Regions from separate parts of the Homo sapiens genome. Here all the other regions are linked to region 1. Evidence: promoter capture Hi-C in 16 types of primary human blood cells and fetal thymus (Javierre and others, 2016). All regions are on one chromosome and are shown on one strand. Each heading gives the region's core, a stretch centred on a gene start or on the middle of the fragment in contact. The rest is flanking DNA. Distances are from core to core; before and after follow the strand shown.

Region 1 (2,559 bases), core at 19-2,518:
GAGTAGGAGCCAGGCAAAGACCCAAAGAGAGAGGGAGAAAATACCACAAGATGCATAGAAGGAAGTGCAAAGAAAGGAGAAAAGAGAGACAGAGATATACTCACAGCAAGGTGCAGAGACATGGAGACCCTATAAGAGATGGAAATGGAGAGCCACAGAGGGGGAACTGCGGGCACTAAGAGAGACATGGAGAGAACTAGAAAGATAGAGACGTGAACACAGACACAGAGACCCAGAGCCAAAAAGAGACAGAAATGGGGTCATAGGTGGACAGAAATGCACAGAGAGACTGTGAGCCCCCACAGACACAAACGCTGAGAGGGGCAGACATGCAGAGACACCCACAGAAATGCAGAGACAAAACCACCCGGAGACACATGCCGAGAAACACACTGAGGGGCTCAGAAAGCGACAGATGCAGAGAGAGCCCAAGACAGACCCAGCAAGGGGCCCCGAGAAATGCACAGAAACACAAAGACCGAGACCACCAGAGACAGAGGTACGGAGAGGCGGGGAGGGTGAGGAAGCCTGCTCTCCAGGGCTGGCTTGAACCTAGAACTCAAGGTCATGGCTTGGCTGGGAAGCGGGAGGGGGATACCAAAAAAGATCAGCGTTAGATGGAGGTGGGGAGGGAGGGTAGGTTTCACCCTAATTGACACCCCACCCTCCCCCTCCCCCTCCCCACACCTGCTTCCCGGCTTTAGTGCCTGTTGTCACCAGGATGGAATCCTGGCGGCAGACAAAGGGGTGGGGGTGGGAGGAGGAGACAAAAAGATGGACAGAGACAGAGGAGGAGACTAAGAAGTAGAGACAGACACACAGAGACACACAGATGGAGAGCCACAGAGACAACAGAAATGGGGGTCCAGAAAGAGACCTAGATAGAAAGAGGGAACAGAGAGAAGAAAACAGGAAACATTCCTTATAGCCCATGTGTCATTAGTAGGTCCTCCAAGGACCTACTGTGTGCCGGGCATGGGGACGTCAAAGCACAGGGAGCTATAAGGGAGGTAGTTGGAGCACCACGGGAGCCTGGGGTGTGGGGTGGGAGCAGGGGCGGGGCTCCTGGGCCATGCAGATGGGGTTGGCATGGGGTTGGGGAGGGGCCCACGGAGGCTTCTGGACTCTGAGTGTGGAGCCAGGGGCAGCAGGGCTGTCTCTGAACTCCCAGGCTTGTGTTTGAGCAAAGGAATTCTCTCCCCCTCCCTCTCCCCTCGGGGCGGGCCCGAGCCTCCAGCTATAAACTCCCCGGAGCTTCAGTGCCCTCAGCAAGGCTCAGCCTCAAGATTCACAGCATCTCAGACACAGCCTAGGTAAGGGGCTCTGCGGAGCCCTGTGGTCTTCAAAAACCATGTCCTTGGGGGAGGGGGCAGGAGGCAGGTGGGGAAGATGTCGGGTGTGGAGAAATGGTGCAGAGGTAGGTGGGGCATACAACTGGAGGTCTGGGAACTTGAGAGGCTCAGACTTTAGGGGGACTCAGGATAGAGGGGAAAATACTAGGATTTGTGGGTTACACAAATCCTAACCCGGGGCTGCCAGGACTTGGATGTCCCAGAATAAAACCTCCTAGGATCTTGGGGTTCTGGGAATCTGGGGGAAATCTCAGCAGTCAGGGATATCTGGACTTGGAGGTCAAACAATCTGGGTGTCAGGATTTGGGGCCTCAGACTCTGAGGGTATCAGGAATTGGGGGGGTCTCAGAAGAAATTGGGGTTTTGGTAGTGGAGGGCTCGGAATCTGAGACATTATGATAGAAAGCATGAAAACTTAGAGTGCCATTATCTGGGGTATCATGAACTGGGCCTCCGAGTTTGGGTATCAAGATTTTGGGGGTCTCATATTCTTGAGGTTTCAGATTTTAGGAGGTCTCAAGACCTGGGGGTGGTCTTAGGATGTCCCGGCCCATATCTGGACTATCAAGAACTGGGATTTCAGAATCCAGAGCTGTGAGGACTTGCTGGCCTCAGAAACACGGGCATCATAAATCGGGGTCTCAGAATCTGTGGGTATTGGGATTTGGGGCTAGGCACCCTGTGGCCTAGGGTGTCTCAAAGACTTTGAGGTCTAAGAATGTAGGGGTCAGGGTGAGGTCTACGGACAGAAGGTGCCCTTTATGCCCCTGCCCCCTACGTGATGTATGGGAAGGTGAAAGGGGAGACAGGTGGGGAGGAAACCAGCCAGTGGGGTGGGGCGAGTGGGAGAGGGGATGCGGGTGACTAATTCTCCCAGAAGCCCCCCTTCCTCAAATCCCTTCTTAGGAAATGTCCTCGGTTTCACCATCTATGACATCCCCCCAAAATAGCTCCTGGGGGTGGGGCAGCTATTGTCTTCAGGCCACTGTCCCTTCTCAAATGCCTCTTCCTAATCCCAACTGGATCAGGTTCCCATGGACTTGTCATAAGACAAAAGAGGACAGCTGTGCTGAGGGGGCAGGGTCTGCAGCCTCCTGGCTGTGCCAGGACCACACCTACCAAGGTCTGTCCTCATGCATGCTTTAGGACAGCCGGCCCCCTCCCTCAGACCCAAGAGTCCAGACCTGAGCCCTCCTCCCTCAGACGC
Region 2 (2,559 bases), core at 31-2,530, 210 kb before region 1:
TGATTTTTTTGTAGAAAAGAGGTCTCACATGTTGCCCAGACTGAAGTGCAGTGATGCCATCACAGCTCACTGCAGCCTCAAGCTACCCAGGCTCAGGTGATTCTCCTGCCTCAGCCTCCTCAGTAGCTGGAACCACAGGCACGCACCAACACGCCTGGCTAATTTTGGTATTTTTTGTAGAGATGGGGTTTCACCATGTTGTCCAGGCTAGTCTCAGACTCCTGGACTCAAGCAATCCTCCCGCCTCTGCCCCACAAAATGCTAGGATTACAGGCATGAGCCACCGCACCTGGCCGGGATTCTTAATTCGTACATTTGGCTGTCAGTGTAAACAATCCTGAGTCAGGCCTGATATTAACCAGGCAGGAGGGAGAGAAGCTTAGCAGGGATCTAGAGGTGAAACCACCTGCCCAGATTCCAGTTACTTGTCTGCCCCTAGAGCCAAGACTCATTGATTCCGCCTCGGATTTATTGTGCATTTACTACTGCCAGACTCTGCCCCAGGCAGATACAACAGTGAGCCAAACACACAGCAAGACCCGCCCTGGGGGACGCTCTCCTAAGCCAGGCATCTGCAGCTCTTAAAGCCCTGGGTACCCCTCTCTCCCTACCCTGTCCCCCAAAGCTCTCTCTGGCTTGCTTTCTCCCTGCAGCCTGCAGCACTCCCAGCACTCCGAGTGGCCGGATGCGGGGGCTTAACCTCAGTTGGAAACTGTCCAGAGGAGCCCAGCGCTGCCAGGTACCCTTTAAGACCCTGGAGATCTGCCTTAGACCTGGGGGCGGGGGGAGGGGGGCGAGGGAGGAGGGTGGGGGGGGCGGGTAACGGAGGGGGGAGGACGAGGGGGGCGGGGGGGTTCCCAGGAGCCCGGACCCCACCGCTGCTCTTTCCTCTTAACCCCACAGGCCCCGAGGGTTCTGTGCGCACCGACTGTAGGAAGCGGAATGTTGAAAGCCGCTTGGGGGGATTTGCCCCCTCTGGTAGATACCAGAACTATGGATATGCCTTTATATATTGGGGGGCGGGGGGGGGCGGGGGCGAGCCCGTGGAGCCGCCCAACTTCGCAGAGATTAAAGCTTGAGCCTGAGACTCAGCGAGTCGCACCTCGGTGCCTGTGTGCACGCGCAGGCCCCCGAGGGGGCGTCGGGGGAGCAAGGGGTGGGGTGGGGGCGCCCCTACCAGCCCCGCGGTGCACGACGGCTCCCATTGGCTGGGGCTCGGGCGTCCTAGCCAATCCGGCCGCGGGGTGCGTTTCTCCTGACCCGGGTGGGACCGCACCCCGCGGACTCAGAAGCGAGCGGCACCCCGGGACCATCCCACAGCAGATCCAGTGGCCGCCAACGTCAGGCTGGTGAGGGCACGACGGGTGGGGTTCAGGGGCGGGGGTCAGGATGGGGAGACGGGTCGGAGCGAGGGCGCCCCCTCGGCCCCACGGAGTCCCCGTCCCGTCCCGTCTCGCAGGAGTTGCCTCCTTCGTGGATGTTGGATGTGGAAGCCCAGGAGCCCCCCAAGGGGAAATGGTCGACGCCGCCCTTCGACCCGCGCTTCCCCAGCCAGAACCAGATCCGTAACTGCTACCAGAACTTCCTGGGTGAGACCTGCTCAGCCAGGTTATGGGAGGAGCAGGGTGTGACAAGGGACGGCAGGGAGGGGCACTCCCACCCTAAGTCCCGCGGAGACCGTTAGGGTGGGAGGCCGGGCGGGGCCGGGTTGGTGGGGGCGGGGCCTGGTCGAGAAAAGGCGGGGCTGAGCCTGGAGGGGCGGGGCGAGGTTGGTAGGGGCGAGGCCTGATCTGGAAGGTGCGGGGCCGAGTCGTGAAGGTGCGGGGCGAGGTAGGTAGGGGCAGGGTCTGGGTAGGAGGAGCAGTGTGAGGGAGGTAGGGGTCGGGGCCTGGCTGGGAGGGGCGGGACGGAGGCCTCCAGGGGAGAGGGAGGCGGGACGAAGCAGCGAAGAACTGGGAGGGCCCGAGCAGTGGAGGGGCGGGTCCTGTCCTGGAATGGGCGTGGCTTGCCGCGTGACCCCCGCCCGCCACAGACTACCACCGCTGCCTCAAGACCAGGACCCGCCGCGGGAAGAGCACGCAGCCCTGCGAGTACTATTTCCGCGTGTACCACTCGCTGTGCCCCATCAGCTGGGTGAGTCGGCAGAGGGGGCGCCGGGCCAGGCGTGTGCAGGGCTCGGCCGAGGCTGAGCCGGCGTCCCGCTCCCTGCCTTTCTGCTTCCCAGGTGGAGAGCTGGAACGAGCAGATCAAGAACGGGATTTTCGCCGGCAAAATCTGACTGCCCCAGCGCGGCTTCCTCTGAAGATGCAGTGATCCTGCATCTTTTTGTCTCGCGGAGCCCCGGGTCTCGGTTATCCACCCCTACCTCCCAGTGTCTAAGCCACGAATAATGGTATGCTGTTGCTGATGTTTCTTCTTAATGCCCAGCCAGCGATGCGTCGTGGTGGTGGTGGGGATCCTCCGTGTGCCTGTGTCCGGGCTAACGCTGCTTTTTCCGATAAGGGGCAGGTGGGGGACTGCTGCTCCATCAGGTAGCAGCAGGCAGTCAAGGCCCTAAGA
Region 3 (2,559 bases), core at 20-2,519, 180 kb before region 1:
CCATCTCCTTTCTCCAGTGTCAGACCCAGACCCACTCACGTTGCAGTCTGAAGTCTCTCCCAGCCACTCCTGGTCTTTCTCCTCCTTTTTCTTTTTTTCTTTTTTTTTTTGTATTTTTAGTAGAGACGGGGTTTCACCATATTGGCCAGGCTGGTCTTGAACTCCTGACCTCGTGATCCGCCTGCCTTGGCCTCCCAAAGTGCTGGGATTACAGGCTTAAGCCACCGCGCCTGGCCTTTCTCCTCCTTTATCCTTCAGCAACCTCATCCCCAGTCAATCTCTTGCTTTTCTTTTCTTTCTTTCTTTTTTGTTTTTTTGAGAGGGAGTTTCGCTCTTGTCGTCCGGGCTGGAGTGTAGTGGCACAATCTCGACTCACTGCAACCTCCACTTCCTGGATTCAAGCGATTCTCCGGCCTCAGCCTCTTGAGTAGCTGGGATTACAGGCGCCCGCCACCATGCCCAGCTAATTTTTGTATTTTTAGTAGAAACGGGGTTTCGCCATATTGGCCAGGCTGGTCTCGAACTCATGACCTCAGGTGATCCACCCGCCTCAGCCTCCCAAAATGCTGGGATTACAGGCGTGAGCCACCGGGCCCGGTCAGACAGGCATTCTTTTAGGGTCTTATGTGGATAACCCCAATAAACCCTCACAATTGCACGAGGGCAGACCATCATGATCCCTGTTTTGCAGACAAGAAAACAGAGGTCCGAGACCCATCTATCTCTAGAGGTGTACATCCCCTCCCTGGGGAAGGTTCTGAGACCTCTGTGTTCCTAGACGTCTACATCCCCTCTCTGGGGAAACTTCCAGGCAGGGGACATAGACATCTAGGGATATAAAAATAAAAATAGGCCGGCCGCGGTGGCTCACGCCTGTAATCCTAGCACTTGGGAGGCCGAGGCGGGTGGAACACCGGATGTCAGGAGTTTGGGACTAGCCTGACCGACATGGAGAAACCCTGTTTCTACTAAAAAAATACAAAATTAGCCGGGTGTGGTGGTGCATGACTGTAATTCCAGCTACTTGGGAGGCTGAGCAGGAGAATCGCTTGAACCCGGGGGCAGAGGTTGCGGTCAGCTGAGATCGCGCCATTGCACTCCAGCCTGGGCAACAAGAGCGAAACTCCGTCTCAAAAATAAAAAATAAAATAAAAAAATAAAAATAAAAATAAAAACCAGTCCCCACCACCAACCACAAGCGGTTTCCTCAATATGAAAGTGCAACGTCATCTTTCTCAGAGGAAAAGCACAGCCTCTTCCCCTCGGCTGAGCCAGGCCAGCAGCCCTAGCTTCTGGAAGGATCCTTCAGGCTCCAGACACCCAACCTACCCGTGGCCGGTGAGTGGGGCCTAATTCCCAACTTGAAAGTAGCTCGGCAGGCTGGAGCCCTGTCCCCTGTCCTCCCAGGGAGGGTCCAAGCAGGTCACATAAGCACCGTGGGGACACCAGTGAGCCAAACTCATCTTTGTGCCAGGACACCGAGTTGGGTATGGAGGCTCAGAGCGGGGACAAGTCTTCCTTAGGATCACCTGGGCTTTCTCGTCTTTATTATTATTATGTTTTTGGAAGAGAAGTGGGAATCAGCCAGGTGGCAAACACAGGACAGGGCAGGGCAGGAGATCAGTGTTGAGGGCCGACGGAGGAGCAGGTAGCATGGACCCCTCCCTCCCCTGGGCTCCCTCATAGCTTTGTGTGACTTCCTTTAGAGGAGCTGTCACCTGCTGATCATCTGTGTTGCCCACAGACAGGGATTCCCCTGAGGGCAGGGGGTGGCTCAGATTCATGTCTGGGCAAACGGAGACCTCCGGAAAAAGAAGCGAAAGGAGGAAGACGAGACCCAGAGGAGAGGCATTTGGCAGCAGAAGGGGTGAGGAGGACTTGGAGAGCTTTGCCCTCTATCAGCCCCACTGGGACAGGATTTATTTTTTATTTTATTTATTTATTTTATTTTATTTATTTTTGGAGACGGAGTCTCACTCTGTCGCCCAGGCTGGAATGCAGTGGTGCGATCTCGGCTCACTGCAACCTCCGCCTCCTGGGTTCAAGCGATTCTCCTGCCTCAGCCTCCCGAGTAGCTGGGATTACAGGTGCCTGCCACCACACCCGGCTAATTTTTGTATTTTTAGTAGAGACGGGGTTTCACTATGTTGGCCAGGCTGGTCTCAAACTCCTGATCTCATGATCTGCCCACCTCGGCCTCCCAAAGTGCTGGGATTGCAGGCGTGAGCCACCATGCCCGGCCACCCAGCTAATTTTTTTTTGTATTTTTAGTAGAGACAGGTTTTCACCATGTTGGCCAGGCTGGTCTCGATCTCCTGACCTCAGGTGATCCACCTGCCTCAGCCTCCCAAAGTGCTGGGACTACAGGCGTCAGCCACCTTGCCCAGCCGACCCTGGCTGTTTAAAAAATAAAAATAAAAAATAAAGGAATGAAACACTAATACATGCCACAACATGGATGAATCTCAAAAACATTACACTGAGCATAAAATACACCAGACGGGTTGGGCGCGATGGCTTCCGCCTGTAATCCCAGCACTTTGGGAGGCTGAGGCAGGG

The links. The method cuts DNA at HindIII sites, captures the fragments that hold promoters and counts their contacts. A CHiCAGO score of 5 or more calls a contact.
Region 2: a contact is called between the fragment with the promoter of COX6B2 here and the fragment with the promoter of TNNT1 in region 1, in 7 of 17 cell types (non-activated CD4 T cells, activated CD4 T cells, total CD8 T cells and 4 more). The highest score is 7.7, in non-activated CD4 T cells.
Region 3: the fragment with the promoter of TMEM150B here is called in contact with the fragment with the promoter of TNNT1 in region 1 in 3 of 17 cell types (erythroblasts, naive CD4 T cells and total CD4 T cells); the score reaches 9.4 in erythroblasts.

Annotation. Positions count from the first base shown.
Region 1 is chr19:55,147,915-55,150,473 of GRCh38, reverse strand. It overlaps TNNT1 (troponin T1, slow skeletal type), which reads left to right and starts at 1,268. Exons shown (of 14, transcript NM_003283.6): 1 at 1,268-1,313. The HindIII fragment of the contact is 19,232 bases long and covers 1-2,559 here.
Region 2 is chr19:55,353,440-55,355,998 of GRCh38, reverse strand. COX6B2 (cytochrome c oxidase subunit 6B2) reads left to right here and starts at 1,280. Exons shown (of 5, transcript NM_144613.5): 1 at 1,280-1,349; 2 at 1,460-1,589; 3 at 2,033-2,133; 4 at 2,225-2,392. The coding sequence starts at 1,478. The coding sequence ends at 2,278. It overlaps GARIN5B (golgi associated RAB2 interactor family member 5B), which reads left to right. Exons shown (of 11, transcript NM_001145402.2): 10 at 654-739; 11 at 904-1,091. The coding sequence ends at 699. RefSeq lists silencers at 1,696-1,745, 1,856-1,965. The HindIII fragment of the contact is 2,438 bases long and covers 1,077-2,559 here.
Region 3 is chr19:55,324,051-55,326,609 of GRCh38, reverse strand. It overlaps TMEM150B (transmembrane protein 150B), which reads left to right and starts at 1,269. Exons shown (of 8, transcript NM_001282011.2): 1 at 1,269-1,338. The HindIII fragment of the contact is 16,718 bases long and covers 1-2,559 here.